Linked DNA regions of Homo sapiens: region 2 is linked to region 1. The links are contacts of gene promoters, found by promoter capture Hi-C in human tissues and cell types (Jung and others, 2019). All regions are on one chromosome and are shown on one strand. The core of a region is centred on a gene start or on the middle of the fragment in contact, and the rest is flanking DNA. Distances in the headings are between cores, read along the strand shown.

Region 1 (2,700 bases), core at 90-2,589:
CAGGCGCCCTTTCCCTGGAATTTCCCCCTCTACCCTTCCCGGTCTCAGGAGATGCTTCGACTGCAGCCTAATGAATAGCTAATGGCCATGCTAATGAGGCTCTGGGGCTCCTCCCTCAGCACCTGATGTGCCCCACACATGAACACACACATATTGCCAGGGTCTCCTTTCTCTCCACCTTCGAGTCCCCAGCACAGTGCTCGTCACTAGACTCGAGTGGGTCGAGGCAGAGGGATGGGGACCGCGTGCACCTGGAGGGAACCACACGCGAAAGCGCCCGGTAAAGCGGGGGTTCCCGATGCGGCAGGCAGGGGGCGCGCTCCGGCCTCTCCGCAGGCTGGCGGCGGCCGGCTCCCGCAGCTTCCCCGCGGCGCTAGGGGAGAGCGCGCTGTCCCAGTCATTTATTAATCACCGTAATTAGCGGTAACGACCTCGCCGCCAGCTCCGCCCGCCCGCCACAGCTCTGCCGGGGTGGGCCGGCTGAGAGTCCCGCCGCTGAAAGACAAACTTCTAAGTTTCCTTAAAATGATCGCCGCCCCTATCCCCTCCGTAGCAAACACATCCAGCATTTTGGCTTCCTCTGGTCCTAAGTGAGTTCTTGGGAAACTTCGGGGTTCCGAAGACCAGCTGCCTGGGTGGGTCACCGAGTGACCTGGCTTGGCCGAGGCCGGCGGGAGACTGTGCCCCCTCCTCTGCCCTCCCTGCGCTGGGCCCGGGCCTTTCTTAGCTCGGACTTCCCTGCCCGTTACCAGCAACGGTTCTTCTCACCTGGGGTGGGCGTTGTAGGGGAAGGGAAGGAGGTGTAAAAAGACTCAGTAGCCATCTTCTCCCAAGCCCTCGACCTCCCGCGGGTACCCCCACTCATGTGCTCGAAGCTCCAAATTATCCCTTAGACCCCACGACCCAGGGAGGCGCTGGGAGGCGCCACTCAATCCCGGACCTCGGGACAGGAGCGCTTCTCCTTCCCTTCCACGCCGCCCTCTCACCTCATCCCCATCCCAGGATCCCATATCCCCAAGAGGCAGGGTCTCACCGTTGAGAGAGGGATCGCCGGGAGGCAGCAGGGTGTGGTTGAGCGCCGCCAGCGAGGAGTTGAAGCCCAAGAGCAGCTCGCTGGAGTTGGAGATGTCCCCGGCCAGAGAGTCCGCGAACAAGTTCATCTGCAGCAGCGTTTTCAGCAGGTAGCGCAGCATGGCTCGACCCAGCTGGGATCGGGACTGGGGGCTGGGGGCCCAGCCCCTGGGTCTGAGACCCGTGGGCTGGGAGCCGTAAGCCCCTCCACAGCCTCTGCGCGCTGCGGCAGCCACGGTGCCGCTCTCCTGCCGGTGCGCCTGGGTACGGTCGGTGCCTCTTCGTGCCCTCCTCCTTCCCTCGTCCTTCTCTCCACCCCCTAGTGCCGGAGTCCCCTGGGAGCTGGGCAGGCGGAAAGCAGGTGCCACGCCGATCACGGCGTAATTAAGGGATTAATCCGCCTCCCTCCACCCTCCCACCCTTACCTCTACAGTCACTATCCGAGCAGGAGACACGAGTAGCGTAGCGCGCGAGTTGGAGTCCCCGCCCCGCACCCCAAGCCCAGCGTTCCGTTCTGGACGCGGCGAGAGATTTTCCCTGTCTCAAAGCACCCAAGATGAGGGACGAGGCTCTGTCGGACTCTGCCCTTCTGCCCAACTTTAGAACAGGAATCTGTCCTCTCTTTTCCCGAACCTTTTGGAAACTGAGGCAAAGCGCAAGCAATGCTCCTTGCTGCCAAAGTTCTGGTTTCCATTCCCTCCCAAGTCTAGGGGTTTGGCGACGGAAGGGCAGGAGACTGGGGTGGTTTGCAGCAAGAGTTGGGAGTAGGCAGAGAATTCCAAGACAGGTCCACCTCTCTGCCCTCTGGTCCTTTGGTCTGCAGCCAGGAGGCCAGAGGATGGAGCGGCGCGCCCTGACCCGGGAGTCCTGCTCCAAACGCCCTAATCTAGGAGTTCCTGTAGGAGACTGAAAGCCAGGGAAACCCAGGCAACTGTCATTTATTTGAATCCTTTTACATTACCCTGCTTTGACATTTTTTATTAAATTGTTTTACGTTTTTGAGGAGACTGAAATGGAACCAAGGATTCTAGGACAAAAACAAAGATAATATTATTTTTGTAAAGGCATGTGGGATTGCTGCAAAATTAGTGCAAATCTGTTCAAATCGGATAGCAGTCGTCCTTCCTGGGGGGGGCGAAAAGAAAACCATGGGCCCCTACTCCCACCTCCCACTTCCAGTCGCGGTCTGCTTCTGACTTTTCTGGAGTTCTTTCTACCTGAAGACCCACCTCGACAAACTCACTTTCCTAGACAGGAGATGGCTTTGGGGTATCAGGGAAAGAGAGAGGCCGGGGCATTCCTAACCTGAGGTAAGGCCCTGCTGATTGAAGAGTCAGTGCCAGAGTTCTGGCTCAGCCGTCAGGTTCTGGGATGAGACAACTTTCATGGGGCGACTGCTTCTGACCCCAAAGGGGTCGAGATCAGAGGGGTGGGTGCTATACAGTCGCAGACTCTGGAGTAAGCAGAATCAAGAATTGAAATATTTCAGGCAGAGCTTGTTCAAGGGAACCCGAGACATTGTCAAGGGGTGGGGGGCTTGTTCCAAGCCTCCTTCCTCAGTCCAGGCGCCTGGCTGTGAGCCTCCAACTATGGGTGTTTAGGTGCCTTCCAACCCTAGCAGTTCTGGGC
Region 2 (2,700 bases), core at 177-2,676, 260 kb before region 1:
ATCAGTGATAGACTGGATTAAGAAAATGTGGCACATATACACCATGAAATACTATGCAGCCATAAAAAAGGATGCATTCATGTCCTTTGTAGGGACATGGATGAAGCTGGAAACCATCATTCTCAGCAAACCATTGCAAGGACAAAAAACCAAACACCGCATGTTCTCACTCATAGGTGGGAATTGAACAATGAGAACACTTGGACACAGGAAGGGGAACATCACACACCGGGGCCTGTCGTGGGGTGGGGAGAGCGGGGAGGGATAGCATTAGGAGATATACCTAATGTAAATGACGAGTTAATGGGTGCAGCACACCAACATGGCACATGTATACATATGTAAGAAACCTGTGCATTGTGCACATGTACCCTAGAACTTAAAGTATAATAAAAATAAAAAAACTAAGCAAATGAACAAAGAACCAACTAAAAAAAAAAAAAGAAAACATACAAGAAAGGAAATGTAATCACGGTATACCACATGACTTAGTTATAGGCAGTATTTCCATAGTCACAATACTATGAATACTGAATACCAATTTGACCAAAAATTATAGAGTAACTAAATTAGGAGGATTGAGGGAGAAGCATATATATATATATATATATATATATATATATGTCTGTGTGTGTTATATGTTTATATATGTATGTATTTTATGTGTATATATGTATGTGTTATATGTGTATATATGTATTATAAGTGTATATATGTATGTATTATGTGTATATATTTATGTATATTTGTATATATGCATGTATTATATGTGTATATATGTATTACATGTGTATACATGTATGTTTTATAAGTATATATGTATTTATTATGTGTGTATATGTATGTGTTATATGCATATATGTATGTATTATGTGTTAATATAAGTATGTTATGTGTATTTATGTATTATATGAGTATGTATTATATGTGTATGTATTGCATGTGTATGTATGTATGTGTTATATGTGTATATATGTGTATGTGTTGTGTAGGTATATGTGCCTATATACGTGTTATATGCATATATGTGTATGTGTTGTATGTGTATAAATGTGTTACATGTTATATGCATATATGTGTTTCTTATATGTGCATATATATGTGTGTGTTGTGTGTGTTATGCGTGTATATATATGTGTTATGTGTGTATATATATATGTGTGTGTGTGTCATATGTGTTAGAGAGTTAAATTATCATCTTCCAGAGGAAGAAGGTAACAATAATGTCAAAGTTGGGGGGTGGAAATCAACAATTAGAAGCAGAATTTTCTTTTAGAAAATATGGAGTTAAATGCTGTAAGTAAAAATTAATTTTAAAAGGGTGATAAGGAGCCCTGGGTTAGGATAATGGCTGCCGGAGATGAAAATCAGGAGATGGAGTTCAGACATGCTCAGGAAGCTGGATTTGGGGGCTGATTACGTGGACAGCAAGGGAAAGGGAAGCATAAAACACACATAAACAAAAGAAATCACTCTATCGTTTTCAGCCTGTGTTTGAATAATGACAGTGGTTGGGGAAAAAAGCAAAGCTTGAGAATGTTAGAGGCTTGCACGGAAGATCTAGATAAAGGTCACCTCAGCAGTGCCCGGTGGCGGGGGCGCCCCTCTGCCCGCCCCTCTCCTGGGCCTCTGGGGTTCTGAAGTAGGGTATTCTGAGCGCAGCTGTCTGGCAAACAGAAACCAAGAGGCTTTTAAATGTATAGGATTCAGGCACCAAAGGAGGTCTTAGAAATCACTTACTTAAATTAAATCCTCCAACTTTCAGCTAACTAAATTGAATCCCAGAGAAATTAAAATCCTAGGGAAGAAACAGTTTCAACCAAAGGGTGCTCAACAGTGTTAAGAGCTTTAGAGACGGTGAAGAAGCGAAGACCAAGAAACGGCCGTCGGATTGCGCGGTTCGGTGATCATTGAGAAAGTAACCGTGCTGGGCAAGGGTGGAAAGCCAGTTAACGCAGAAGTCAAGATACCACGGGGGCTGAGGCGCCTGCACCTCCCTGACGACGCCTGCACATTGTAAGTGCTCCACAAAGACTAGCTGTTGTTGATGTCTAGTTTTCAGATAAACATGATGATTAAACGGAGGGAAAAAAAGGCTAGTAGCTTAATGAAGATAACTAAAGGTCTTAAAGGTGTTTGGGAAAAAAAAGTGGAAATGGTGTCTAAGCCAGATGACTAAGAAGCAGAGAAGCGCTGTAACTGACAGCGGGCGGCCAGCATGGCTGGGATGGACTTTAAGGAAAGATGTACGTGCGGTGATTCGTCTTGAAAAAGAGGGCAATTCTAGACTAAAGGAGAAGAGGAAGGGTTGGGTGACTATCTGGAAGAATTTTGAATGGTAAGAAAGGGATATTTTTAAAACCTAGATCAGATGACGTCTTTTTAAGGAAAACAGGAGACATAATTATCAACCGAAAGTGGGTTTCTGAAGGTGAGATTGCAAACTTGAAGAAGAAAGAAAATAGTGCATCTCAACCAGGGGTGATTTTGCCGCCTGCCCCCAAGAGATGTTTGGCAATGTCTGGAGACATGTCTGGTTGTCAGGAAGGGACATGGTATCTCGTAAGCAGAGGCCGGGGAGTCTACTAAACACCCTACAATTCAAAATACAGTAGAGCCTTCCCTTCCCCAGTTTTACTTTCCACAGTTTCCATTACCCACGGTCAACTGTGGTCCAGAAATATTAAGAGAAAAATTCCA

What was found. The method cuts DNA at HindIII sites, captures the fragments that hold promoters and counts their contacts. A contact is called where the count stands out against the background at its distance.
Region 2: a fragment that was not itself captured here is called in contact with the fragment with the promoter of ROBO3 in region 1 in 1 of the 25 tissues and cell types used here (spleen).

What each region holds. Positions count from the first base shown.
Region 1 is chr11:124,864,071-124,866,770 of GRCh38, reverse strand. ROBO3 (roundabout guidance receptor 3) reads right to left here and starts at 1,339. Exons shown (of 28, transcript NM_022370.4): 1 at 1,034-1,339. The coding sequence starts at 1,193. RefSeq lists an enhancer at 347-1,023. The HindIII fragment of the contact is 19,013 bases long and covers 1-2,700 here.
Region 2 is chr11:125,128,723-125,131,422 of GRCh38, reverse strand. No RefSeq gene overlaps it. Among named protein-coding and RNA genes, the nearest start is that of TMEM218, 18 kb to the right of the region's middle. The HindIII fragment of the contact is 6,940 bases long and covers 1-2,700 here.